Regions from separate parts of the Homo sapiens genome. Here all the other regions are linked to region 3. Evidence: promoter capture Hi-C in 16 types of primary human blood cells and fetal thymus (Javierre and others, 2016). All regions are on one chromosome and are shown on one strand. The core of a region is centred on a gene start or on the middle of the fragment in contact, and the rest is flanking DNA. Distances in the headings are between cores, read along the strand shown.

Evidence for each region. Contacts are between HindIII fragments. The CHiCAGO score rates a contact against its expected background, and 5 or more counts as called.
Region 1: a fragment that was not itself captured here is called in contact with the fragment with the promoter of PKHD1L1 in region 3 in 1 of 17 cell types (total B cells); the score reaches 6.6 in total B cells.
Region 2: a contact is called between a fragment that was not itself captured here and the fragment with the promoter of PKHD1L1 in region 3, in 2 of 17 cell types (total B cells and naive B cells). The highest score is 6.0, in total B cells.
Region 4: a contact is called between a fragment that was not itself captured here and the fragment with the promoter of PKHD1L1 in region 3, in 1 of 17 cell types (total B cells). The highest score is 6.9, in total B cells.
Region 5: a contact is called between a fragment that was not itself captured here and the fragment with the promoter of PKHD1L1 in region 3, in 1 of 17 cell types (total B cells). The highest score is 5.6, in total B cells.

The regions. Positions count from the first base shown.
Region 1 is chr8:108,902,023-108,904,722 of GRCh38, forward strand. All of the region lies in intron 3 of LOC101927413 (a long non-coding RNA gene), which reads right to left. Among named protein-coding and RNA genes, the nearest start is that of TMEM74, 120 kb to the left of the region's middle. The HindIII fragment of the contact is 1,603 bases long and covers 453-2,055 here.
Region 2 is chr8:109,653,458-109,656,157 of GRCh38, forward strand. It overlaps a transcript of SYBU not described here. Among named protein-coding and RNA genes, the nearest start is that of SYBU, 10 kb to the left of the region's middle. The HindIII fragment of the contact is 7,372 bases long and covers 1-2,700 here.
Region 3 is chr8:109,361,066-109,363,765 of GRCh38, forward strand. It overlaps PKHD1L1 (PKHD1 like 1), which reads left to right and starts at 1,396. Exons shown (of 78, transcript NM_177531.6): 1 at 1,396-1,588. The coding sequence starts at 1,516. The HindIII fragment of the contact is 8,587 bases long and covers 291-2,700 here.
Region 4 is chr8:109,701,847-109,704,546 of GRCh38, forward strand. No RefSeq gene overlaps it. Among named protein-coding and RNA genes, the nearest start is that of SYBU, 58 kb to the left of the region's middle. The HindIII fragment of the contact is 4,683 bases long and covers 1-2,700 here.
Region 5 is chr8:109,671,542-109,674,241 of GRCh38, forward strand. It overlaps a transcript of SYBU not described here. Among named protein-coding and RNA genes, the nearest start is that of SYBU, 28 kb to the left of the region's middle. The HindIII fragment of the contact is 3,125 bases long and covers 1-2,700 here.

The sequences.
Region 1 (2,700 bases), core at 4-2,503, 460 kb before region 3:
ACTCAGAAATTCTATACCGAGTAAAATATCCTTCACAATTAAAGGCAAAATAAAAAACCTTTCGAAAGAAACAAAAACTAACAGCATTTATCCCAGAAGACCTATGCTAAAAGAATTATTAAAATGAATTATTCACATGGCAGGTATGTAATTCCACATGGAAGCACAGATATGTAGGAGGAAATGAGAAATGATGTAAAGAGTGGGCACAAGAGTAAATTTAAATGAATATTGACTATAGAAACAATTGTAATATGTTAGTCATTTTAAAATACTTGTTTAGTTAACGCATGAAAACAATTCTAAAATGATGAGAAGATGGTAAATGGAGTTAAGTGTTCCATGGGAACCATGGAACCTCTCATATATATGGGGGTTTAAAAATTCAAGGATGCATATTGTAGTCTCCATGGCAACCATCAAAATAATAGTAAAATATTACATGGCTAACAAGCTTATAGACAAGAAAAACCTAATAAGAATACTAATCAGAAAAACATAACTAACAAGCTAATAAATAGGAAATACAATAATAGAAATATTTAATCATAAAATAGCAAGAAGAGCAAAGGCATGGTAAAATAGATGAGATAGATAATTAATACAGATAACTAACATAGATTTAAAAGCAACTATGTCTATTAATTTAAACAGGCTAAATTTTTCAATTAAAAGACAAAGATTAATTGATTGGGTTAAAATTTTTTAAAAATAGATACACCAGAAATAGAAGAACAAGAAGAAAATATATATACCATATTTTAAATTTTTAATTTGTGTTTATTTATATTGCCCTGCATGCACACACAAGGTTTCTAAAACAGAGATCTCTAGAGTTCTCTCACTATCTAGCCAATCATATAACCTTCCAAACTTGTTTCACTTCAGGTCCCAAGTTTGAGTAAGATTTGCTAAGAAAATCTTAACTACCCAGAATCATAAAAGAAAGTTTCTCTGCAACACTAACCAAAAGAAAGGCAGAGGTCGGGCACAGTGGTTCACACCTATAATCCCAGCACTTTGGGAGGCTGAGGCAGGCGGATCACCCGAGGTCAGGAGTTTGAGATCAGCCTGGCCAACATGGTGAAACCCTGTCTCTACTAAAAATACAAAAATTAGCCAGGTGTAGTGGCGCACACCTGTAACCCCAGCTATTCCAGAGGCTGAGACAGGAGAATTACTTGAACCCAGGAGGCAGAGGTTGCAGTGAGCCGAGATTGTGCCACTGCACTCCAGCCTGGGCAACAGAGCGAGACTCTGTTTCAAAAAAAAGCAGATAGCTGTTCTAAAGCATACAAATAGCATACAAAAAAGCACACTAATGGGCTTTCAGAAAAACAGCATGTTACAGTTAAAGAGGAAATTTTCATAAAGAGAAAGGTATCAAATTCACATGGAAAATATAACGATGAGCCAATAACATAAGTTTAAGATATATAATTCAAAAACTATCAGGACAGGTGTACATCATTTCTCAAATCCTATTGGTAAGAATTTAGTCACACACTCCAAAGGAAAATATGGAGAATTGTCTGGATGTTTGGCAAGCAATATTGTCTCTTCCATGCCTGCCTTCTGAAACTTGCTCCAATTCATCCTTTACATTTCCAGAGTAATTGAAATGTAAATATCATTTTATTACTCTAAAAATATTATCTGGTTTCCCCCAGTGGAATACAATCCAGATTCCTTAGTCTGTCATTTAAGGCCTTTCACATCCTGGACCCAAAGCCTTTTCAGTTTCAACTTCTGCTTCCTCCCCTGGTCACCTAGAAAATGACTTGTTCAGATTTTCTTGTTCATAATGTTTGTTTGTTTGTTTGTTTTTAACCTACAATGTCCTCCTTTGCCTTTCTGCATGTTGAAATCTTGTATTTCTTTGCAAAACTGAAATGTTTTCTGCATAGTCTTTCTAATCCCCTTTATCAAGATTAATTGTTCTCACTCCTGGAAACTCACAAGCACTTTGTTTATATTTCAAATGTAGCATTTATTCTAGTCTGACTTGTATAATCATCTCAGCCACCTCTCCATTATGCTACACTGTTCAAAGAAAGCTTTGTGACATATTTCTACCTTTCACTGGAAAAACATCAGCTAAGAAGAATTTATTGCTCAGGACAACTTATTAAGCCAAGAATCACAGAAGTAAGGGAGAGAAACAATCAAGACTCTAGTAGTCTTGGAGGCATAAGCTAGATAAGTAAGGAAGTATAGTTACGGCGAAAGGAGTCTGATAACACCAAAATTATAAACTACTGGGGGAATGTGTAGATTTAGACTCTATCTAAGACACTATTGGTAACCCATTTGACTTCCTGCAGTGTATAGGGAACAGTATACATAAATTCTCCTTGCATTCACAGTCACATAGATTCTATTATTATATCAAGCCCCAAAATAGAAACCAAATCAAATACTGACTGGTATATCATTAATAAGAAAAGAAACTAGGCTTTGAAATGAGATACAGTTGTAAAACTTGTCTCAAGAAGTGGTAATTCTAGAAGAAAAAAAGAGAATGAGTGCTACTCAGGTAAAGTTTCCTCAAGACATCTATCACCATTAAAAATATTTATTAAGTGCCTACTTGTGAGTTATGAACTGATGGCTCTTATACAGGCATTTAATAAAGAAGATGTGCATTTAATTTGGAATCACAGCATTCATTGAATCTTTATAATTAACAAATTATTTCAT
Region 2 (2,700 bases), core at 169-2,668, 290 kb after region 3:
CAATGCCAAGACTCCTAGAAGTTTCCCAAAAGTCTTAACAGCACTGCCTCTCCTATGACCCGAAGCTGAGCATGGTGGGAAAACCCCACAACCCTGTGGATGAATGACACTGCATGCTCTTGCTTTTCACCTGCAGTGGGCCTCAGTGCTGCCTGGCAATCATTTTGGGCTTCTAGTGCATGTTCTCTCCTATTCTCCACAATGTCTATTTTAAATCTCCTCCATACTTCAAATCTACCAGCCTACCACCCCTGCCCTCATGTTGTACAGATGGCCATTTCTCCTGATTGACAGACAAAAATAGGAGGTATTAAGAGAACTCTCTCAATCTCCTGCCTCCAAACCTATAAATTCACCTGCCTCCACCCCATCCTTCCCATTTCTGGTTCTTTAGGATGGAAGTTGTGTTTCTTCCTATACAAGAAAAATTCGTTTACCTGAACTCTGGATCCCATTCTTTCCCATCTCTTAAGGCATATTATCCTATCAGTTAGTCTCTCATAGGATTATTGAGAGTATCAGAGGAGTTAATAACCATAAAGAACATGGAAGAGCACCCTGCACACACTAAGCACTCAATGAACGTTAGCTATTTTTTTTTATAACTTTAATCCATTTTTTTTACTGGACATTTCACATCAGCATTTAAACATGCCAAAAACTTTTCCAGTGAAATAAATGACCATCCAAAGCTCTCATATATTTCTAGTACAACCTGATTTCTTATCCCCATTCATCACCAAACGTCTGAAAAAGTTACTTGTCTAGAGTATATGTCTCACACTTCCCTGCTCCTTGAACCAATCCCTACTCCACTCATGTACTCACAGCTCTACCAAATAGCTCTTGCTCAAAGTCACAAATTCTTCCATTTGGTTTAATCTGATGGCTAGTTTTGATCTTAGTCTTGGCTTCTCATCAGCCTTTGCATAGTGAAATACTCGCACATTTTTGAAAAGCACTTTCATTTTTTCTGGAACATTGCCCTCCTGATCTTCCCCTACTTCTTGGTATCCTTTTAGCTCATTTCTTAAATGTTGCTTTTGCTCACTTTCAAGCCCTCACCCTTTTATTCTTTCATCCATCCTTCCCTCTTGGGGCAATATCTTTCTTTCCAATTGCTTCAATTGCTATTTACAGGCAGATCTTATAGAAATTATATAACTGCTTACCTCTATTCCATGATTATCCCATAGTTAATTTGGATATCTCAACTTTATATCTCACAGGGTCCACAAACTCACTACATTCCAAATTGAATTCATCATACTTCCTCTAAAAGCTGATTTTACTTCTGTGTTCCCTAAGTTGATAAACAATATCATCATGAAGACCCTGACACCTGGGTGACATTCTTAACTTTTCTGTCTCCCCTTAACCATTACAACTAATTGGAACCTAAGTCCTATCTGTTCTACTTCCTAATTATCTTTAAAATGTGTTCATTTCTCTACCACCTCTTCCTGCCTAGATTTCTAACCTGTCCCCCACACTTGTCCCGTTCAGTTCATTTTTGAACAGTGGCCACAATAGTCTCTTTAAAGTGCAGATCTGATCATTCCTTCCCCATCCTATCTCTCTAGCCTCAAATGAAATCTTTCAATGCTCACTACCAGTCTCAAGATAAACTTCATCCACTAATGCATAGCTTACAAGATCCCTCATGATTTAATCCTTGCATTCCGCCTTTGACGTTCACAAATGTTCCCTCTACCTTGAACACACCTCCCAATCTTCAACCTCCATCTCCCAGCACCGTCCAGTTCCTTTTGCCTTTCGGGTATATTCACTGGATAATTTGATTTGCCAGAGTCATGGCATTTGCTCCTGTCTTGAGTGTGAAATAGGATAAAATGATTTTCGGCTTCGAAAATACTTTTTAGGGAACTATAATGGAAAGATAAAGTTACATTAAAGCTATGATGAACATAGAAGCTGTGTTTGCTTTTGGGCTTGTAACATGAGTTGAATAGCAATTCAAAAGAATTTTTAAGTGACCAAGTGAAATAATGACTTCCAAATTGGTATAACTTGAAAGGCTTCTGCCAAAGAAAATACATACATTTCATCCTATGTATTATAAAATATTAATCTTAGCTTCATTATTTTAGTGGACTCATTTCTCTTGAGTGAGAATTCAAAGAATACTCTTTGAAAAAGTATCCCCATGATTCCTTGTTATAGTTTTTCCTCCTGCTTTCTTCTACCACTTATTGGATTTTTAGTATTAAAATAGAAAACAATTCTAAGTGAGAATTTATTTTACAAGACACTGTCATTTATATTTTTCACATATTCATATAGTTGCGTTGCTGTATTTTTCTTGTTATAACAAACTCAGGATAATGTGTAGTTTCAAATTTACATATGATCTAGACCAGGCGTGGTGGCTCACGCCTGTAATCCCAGCACTTTGGGAGGCCGAGGTGGGCAGATCATTTGAGGTCAGGAGTTTGAGACCAGCCTGGCCAACATGGGGAAACCCCATCTCTACTAAAAATATAAAAAATTAGCCAGGCGTGGTGACATGTGCCTGTAATCTCAGCTACTCCGGAGGCTGAGGCAGGAGAATCGCTTGAACCCAGGAAGCGGAGGTTGCAGTGAGATGAAATCATGCCACTGCACTCCAGACTGGACAACAGAGCGAGACTCCGTCTCAAAAAAAAAAAAAATTACACACCATCTAGGTAGACCTATTTT
Region 3 (2,700 bases), core at 146-2,645:
CAAACATTGTTTAAAATTTGCCAGATTTTTTTTCAGCAAAACCATTTTGAAGTAAATTCCAGACATAAAGACACTATGACCCCAAATACCTCATCATGCAATTCCATCACTTGAAAACACTCTTTGACTAAAGTATGATACCACTATTATACCTAATAAAATGAACGCTTCTATAATATCTTTCAATACTTGTTACTTAATCCATATTCACTTTCCCTAATTTGTTCTGCAAACGTCCTTCATAGCTTTATATTATTATTATTATTTTTTACAAACCAGGATCCAATAGAAGCTTATGCATTGCTATTTGGGTAATAATCTTTTAATATCTTTTAAAAACACATAACATTTTAAAATGTAGAAACTGCAAACTAGGTAGGTGGATCTTCTCATCTTTTTTTGTTGTTTGTTTTTGAGACGGAGTCTCACTATGTCGCCCAGGTTGGAGTGCAGGGGTGTGATCTCAGCTCACTGCAACCTCCGCCTCCCGGCTTCAAGCAATTCTCCTGCCTCAGCATCCCAAGTAGCTAGGATTACAAGGCATGCGCCACCCCACCAGGCTAATTTTTGTATTTTTAGTAGAGATGGTGTTTCACCATGTCAGCCAGTCTGGTCTCGAACTCTTGACCTCAAGCGATCCGCCCACCTCGGCCTCCCAAAGTGGTGGAATTACAGGCGTGAGCCGCTGTGCCCAGCCCCTTCTCACCTTTTAAAGAGTAGGGAGAGGTGGGCAATCAAGAGATCCTGAGGTTAAGATATTAAGAACAGTGAGAGGATTTGGAATTAGCCCCTGGGGAGCATTCAGTGGTGAATAATAAACTGCCTTCTCCAGGGAGGTCAGAGAAACTTGCGTTTCATTCGTCTGCTATCTGGCATCCCAGAAACAGGTCAGCAGTGCTGGACCTCCCTCCATGCCAACAGTAAGCCTTCGCCCTAAGTCTACTGATTGTCAATTAAAGAGAGAGCACAATCTCATATGAATGTGAAGGGGTAAACACGCGTGGGGTTTGTGTATTAGGTGGTCTTATAGGCCCACCTGGGGAGGATTAATGACCAAGGCAGACAGGCAGATGAAAGTACGCGGGGAAAGAGAGAAAAGAAAAGAAAAGAAAAAAAACAAAAAGAAAATAGAGAAGGAGACCTAGGGAGACCTCAATGACCATTGATTCCTTTCGCCAAAAGGAGTAAGGCCCTTCCACCTATGGGGACAGCCTTGGGAAGGCAGCACCCAGGTTTGAGTGTGGAGGTTTGATTATCACGGACTGGCTCGGGGCCGGCTTGGTTCTCCCGCGAAGGTTCCAGGGTGTGTGTGTGTGTGTGTGTCCGCGCGCGCATGCAAATCCCAGAGGAGCAGCCCGACAGCAGGGGCGGGGCAGGCCACGGGAGGGCGGCCCAGTTCCCCAGCTCTCCCGGGACGAAGCGGGCCCGCCAGCGAGTCGCAGTCCCAGGAGCCGAGCTCCAGCACTAGAGCCAGCTGCGAGCGGAGGGCACCAACTCCGCAGAACTGGCTTTTCAATGGGACACCTGTGGCTCCTGGGTATTTGGGGCCTCTGTGGGCTGCTCCTGTGTGCCGCGGATCCCAGCACAGGTAACCCTTTGGGCACGCTAGGCAGGCAAGCAGGAGAGGCCCGCGTAGACACTACCCCTGCTCCCGGGGTCCTGGGAGAGGCAGGACCACCTGGCACCTGGCTGAGGCTGTGGGTGCGGTTGCATGACGATCCTGGGGACCAGGGGAGCTGGATAGCAGGCCTAGCAAACAGAGACAGACGCAGAGAGAGAGAAACAGAGACAAGGACACAGAGAAAGAGATTGCGAGAGATTGCCTTTTAACTCATCAATGCTGCTACTTGAATGATGAAATCTCCCACCGGCACCCACAAAGTGACACAAGTAGACTGAAATTTGGCGGGGGAGTGGGGACTGGGAAGAGGCAACCTGAGTCCCTTTTCCTCCATTCTTCTTGGGTCGCTTTCCTCACAACAGAAAGGGCAACAACCCCCAGTAGGACGGGGATGGGACTTCGTGGCAGGTGTCAGTCATTTCCAGGGGCAGCTGCCCTGTGTTTTCAAAGTAATACCCAGAAGAGGGCTGGGAAGAGACTGATAAGATAAGAAATTGGAGTTGTCTGTGGAGATAACAGGAGGATGAACCTGAGATAGGCGAGGAGCAGCACTGTCTGGAGATAGGATCCAGCTTCCCCGCTGGAGTTTCCTACTCTTGGGCTGCCCTGAGATATGAATGTGCGGGAATAAGAACACCTTGGAGCTCTTGGCAAAGACAGACCCGAGGTACAGAGGCACTGGGTCTGGGGCCTCGGAACTGGTCTCCTTTATGTTGGAGAGCTTTTGCTACTATAGGTGAAGTCCACTCTAAACCTTTTTAAGACAGAACTGAACAAGCCAATCATAATTCCCTTAGCCTTTTTATATACATCCATTTTGAGAAATTAATAATTTCTGTGGCCTTTCTTTGTATCATCCCTTAAATTTTTCTACCTACTGTGAAAATTTCTTTTAGGATTCCAGCAATTACTAGATCTGTACAGTGTAAGCAGAAAATAAACACCTCTATCCACTGTGTAGCTTTGAGTTGTTTTAAAGAATTATTTGCAATACTCCAAAGAAGCAGCTCACACAATCCTGTTTGCCCGGGCAGTTCCCTCTATCTAGAACTATCTTTATCTTTCTGACAACTGGTCCA
Region 4 (2,700 bases), core at 130-2,629, 340 kb after region 3:
TAAGCTGGGAGAGAGAATTAGAAAGGCTTCCTGGAAGAGGTAGATTCTGAGTTCTATTTTGAAGAAAGAGTAGGAGTTATATGGTGACATGACAGGGAGAAAGGTGTCCTAGATAGAGGATATAGCACCATGTACAAAGGCAGAGCGGCAGGCATAGGACCCCATGATACATTTGGAGGGCTGCAGGTAGTTTGGTATGGGAATTTTAACTATGGAAGATGGTTTTGCAGTTTAGTTCTTCTATCGGTGCTGTAACTTCTTTGTCTATTTTCCTCTGGGGCCTACTCAATTATTCTTTTTCTCTATTCTGTCTCTCTTACTGGCTTTTTTACCTTAGTGGCTAAACATACTCAAGAGTTTCCTATATTTTAAACTACTATTTTCATTTCTACTATCATTACTACCATCACCACCACTACCACCATCACCTCCGCCTTTACTATTTCCATTACCTTTGGCTTAACTGTCATCACTTTGACCACCTTCATCATCATTTAAACCATCACCACCCCGTGACCACTGTACCTCCACCACCTCCACCATGTTCATTCCCACTACCTTTATCACCTCCAAGACCACCACTGCTGCTACCATCTCCACCTATATCACCTCCACTATCACCTCCAACATCAACTCTGCTATCTACTTCACCAGCTTTACCACAATCACCACCATTGCCATATCCATAACCTTCCTTTAGTTCTCCATTCCTCTCATCAGTCATGACATCACCTTGTTTCACAACAACCTTCTTGAAAGAGTAGTATCACGTTGCCTTTCCTCTTTTGTTACCCTTATTTGTTGCTTAGCCAATTAAAAACTGGTTTCTATTCTTATCACTCAGTTGAAAGTATTTAAAATAAATTCACTACTTTCTGTGATCACAACATTGCCACATTCGGTGAACACTTTCGGCCCTTAACTCACTTAATCTCATTGCAGCCTTTGGTTCTGCTTTCTACTTCTTTCTTAAAAATATTTTTTTCCTTTGGTTTTGTAATAATAAAACTTCTGGTTACCTTCTAATTTTCTATCCTCTCCTTTTTCAGTCTTTTCTAAGGGCAAATCACCATCCACTTATTCCTTAAATGTGGTTTTCCCTGGCTGTCTGCTATTCTTGCAGTCTTTAGGTGACTGCAAATGTAACCTCTCACACTCATTTCCTACATCCAGTGAATAAGAGCAAGGCAATTTGATGCAAATGAATAAAAAGACTTGGGTAAAGAGGTGAAAGTTTGGCAAAGCTGCTGAGGGAAGTAAGAAAAGGAGCTGACTAAGGCATTCTGGTCAGGGCATGGAGCCTAGGCCAGCTGAGGCTGCATATCGTAAATGTGTGGTGTTTTGAAACCACTCAGTTGTAGATTTTTTTCCAGCATCCTAAGAGTATGAAAGAAATTAAATATGTGGAAATGTGGCTAGAAAAAGGGATAGAATATTTAAATGTTTTTCCTTACAATCTTCACTATGACTATTCCCTTAACCAGGAATCATATAATCAAATAGTTAGAGGGCATGGTTATTAAAAGATAGTCATCCCTAACTATTTTGTAGTGAAAGCAAAATACTGTTCCTGTTGAGTGTGGTAATTCTTTATTTTACTCATCCATGATTTTAAAAGATTTATAGGTTTTACTTGTATTGTTTTAAATTAATGTGGTATAGAGTTAGATTTGTCTAAATCCCTTAATGTCATCTTCGTAGACTTTCTTGAGATGATTTATCAAAAACAACTCCTGCAACAGACAAAATAAATTTGATGTAAATATTTGGAGTTACATCTGCCCGATCAGTAAGAGGTCTCCTATATTTTTAGGATTGGGTCTAAACCAGTTTATTTTTAACCAGAATCTTTGATCATATATGGGCAAACATGAGGCTGAATTCATATGGGTTATTTGGCATTCTACGTCATCTTGCATTTTCTGCTGCAGATTCTTGGATGCAGCACTTGAAATTATTTGAAGTCAGAGAAATTTATATTTTGAATAAAATCCAGACATTTTAACATGGATTTTCATTAGTTTTCTTGTCTATCTCACCAGGCTCAACGTTCCACTCTTTCTAACCTCACAATATACACTCCAGCCATATTGAATTACTTCCAAATTCTCAGCCATGCCACATCTTCTCTCACAAAACGGTGAGAGAACTCTTATGAATTCTTCAAGACGTCCTCTTCTTTAGGAAGTCTTCCTTGACACCCTGATGTTAACTGTATCATAGGACTTAGTGCATCATATTGCAGTAATTCTATCTTTGCCACCTCTGCTAGACAATAAGATTTTTGGGGACTTTGTTTTTATCCTGGTATACCCACTGTCTAGCACAAGGCTTGACAATCAAAGATATTCAAACATTGTTATTCGGTTGAGTGAATCAACGAGTGGATGAAATTACTCTCCAAGTTTCATTATTCTTTTAAAATCATATTATCTGACATATTTTTCAGTCATGTTTCAGTTTCCGTAGTCCCTGTTGATGATCTGAAACAGGAGCTTCCAAAGAGAGAGTGGATAACTTCCCCTACACTTTTCATATGCAGTTTTCTCTGCCGTGAATGGCCTTGTCTGCCTTCACCAACAGTTCTAGTATTGCTTCTTGGAAATCTTTCTGATTTCTATTATACCTTTTTAATAATATTTTTAAATAATATACTTATCCCACACATATTCATGCATTTGTATGCCACTCACTTCCAGT
Region 5 (2,700 bases), core at 82-2,581, 310 kb after region 3:
TGAATTAGGCCAACAGCACCTTACCCTAAAATACTTTGAGCGATTAAAGCATTTGAAATGTTTCAAACTAGTTTTGTTCAATGTGTTTCAGAAATATTATTTTCTGAAATATGAAAATAAGCCAATCTCTAATTCAATTTTGGTAGGGTTCATATCATTTATTTAAATTGGATTTAGGCTTCTTGCAAGAAGGTACAACTGATTTAGGCCTATGACTTAATATGCACAAAAGATGCTATGGGTACTTTATAAATATTTAGTTATAAAAATGAGGATGGCATGTTTCTCTCTACTTGAATTAAAAATGAGTTATTAGTGTAAACCTTTTTGAAAAACTCATTTATGAAGTCAAAATGAATTTTTTTTGTTTTGTTTTTGAGATGGAGTTTCGCTCTTGTTGCCCAGGCTGGAGTGCAATGGCATGATCTCAGCTCATTGCAATCTCTGCCTCCCAGTTTCAAGCGATTCTCCTGCCTCAGCCTCCTGAGTAACTAGGATTATATGCATGTGCCACCATGCCCAGCTAATTTTGTATTTTTAGTAGAGATGGAGTTTCTCCATGTTTCTCAGACTGGTCTTGAAATCCCGACCTCAGGTGATCCACCTGGTTTGGCCTCCCGAAGTGCTGGGATTACAGGTGTGAGCCACCAAGCCCAGCCAAAATACATTATGTAATTTAAAAGCTGGGGGTGGCTGGCAAGATGACGGAATAGGAACAGCTCCGGTCTGCAGCTCCCAGCGAGATCAACACAGAAGGTGGGTGATTTCTGCATTTCCAACTGAGGTACCCAGCTCATCTCATTGGGGCTGGTTAGACAGTGGGTGCAGCCCACAGAGGGCAAGCTAAAGCAAGGTGGAGCATTGCCTCACCTGGGAAGCGCAATGGGTTGGGGAACTCCCTGCCCTAGCTAAGGGAAGCTGTGAGGGACTGTGCCATAAGGAATGGTGCATTGAGGCCCAGATACTATGCTTTTCCCATGGTCTTCACAACCCACAGACCAGGAGATTCCCTTGGAAGCCTACACCACCAGGGCTTTAGGTTTCAAGCACAAAACTAGATGGCTGTTTGGGGAGACAGCGAGCTAGCTGAAGGAGTCATTTTTTCAAACCCAGTGGCTCCTGGAATGCCAGCGAGACAGAACCGTTCCCTCCCCTGGAAAGGGGGCTGAAGCCAGGGACCCAAGTGGTCTAGCTCAGCAGATCCCACCGCCACAGAGCCCAGCAAGCTAAGATCCACTGGCTTTAAATTCTCGCTGCCAGCACAGCAGTCTGAAGTCAACCTAGGATGCTGGAGCTTGGTGGGGGGAGGGGCATCTGCCATTACTGAGGCTTGAGTAGGTGATTTTCCCCACACAGTGTAAACAAAGCCACTGGGAAGTTTGGACTGGGTGGAGCCCACCACAGCACCACAAAGCTGTTGTAGCCAGACTGCCTCTTTGGGTTCCTCCTCTCTGGACAGGGCATCTCTGAAAGAAAAGCAGCAGCCCCACTCAGGGGCTTATATATAAAATGCCCAACTCTCTCGGACAGAGCACCTGGGGGAAGGGGCGGCTGTGGACACAGCTTCAGCAGACTTAAACGTTCCTGCCTGCTGGCTCTGAAGAGAGCAATGGATCTCCCAGCACAGCACTCGAGCTCTGCTAAGGGACAGACTGCCTCCTCAAGTGAGTTCCTGACCCCCGTGCCTCCTGACTGGGAGACACCTCCCAGCAAGTGTGAACAGACACCTCATACAGGTGAGCTCCGGCTGGCATTTGGCGGGTGCCCCTCTGGGATGAAGCTCCCAGGGGAAGGAACAGGCAGCAATCTTTGCTGTTCTGCAGCCTCCGCTGGTGATACCCAGGCAAACAGAGTCTGGAGTGGACCTCCAGCCAACTCCGGCAGACCTGCAACAGAGGGGCCTGACTGTTAGAAGGAAAACTAACAAGCAGAAAGAAATAGCATCAACATCAACATAAAGAACATCCACACAAAAACACCATACAAGAATCACCAGCATCAAAGACCAAAGGTAGATAAATCTACCAAGATGAGGAAAAAGTGCAAAAAGGCTGAAAATTCCAAAAACCAGATTGCCTTTTCTTCTCCAAAGGATCACAACTCCTCGCCAGCAAGGGAACAAAACCGAACAGGGAATATATTTGACGAATTGACAGAAATAGGCTTCAGAAGGTGGGTAATGAGAAACTCCTCCGAGCTAAAGGAGCATGTTCTAACCCAATGCAAGGAAGCTAAGAACCTTGAAAAAACGTTAGAGGAATTGCTAACTAGAATAACCAGTTTAGAGAAGAACATGAAAGACCTGATGGAGCTGAAAAACACATCACAAGAACTTTGTGAAGCATACACAAGTATCAATAGCCAAATTGATATAGCAGAAGATATATCAGAGATTGAAGATCAACTTAATGAAATAAAGCATGAAGACAAGATTAGAGAAAAAAGAATGAAAAGGAACAAACAAAGCCTCCAAGAAATATGGGACTATGTGAAAAGATCAAACCTACTTTTGATTGGTGTACCTGAAACTGATGGGGATAATGGAACCAAGTTGGAAAACACTCTTCAGGATATTATCCAGGAGAACTTCCCCAACCTAGCAAGACAGGCAAACATTCAAATTCAGGAAATACAGAGAACACCACAAAGATACTCCTCGAGAAGAGCAACCCCAAGACACATAATCATCAGATTCACCAA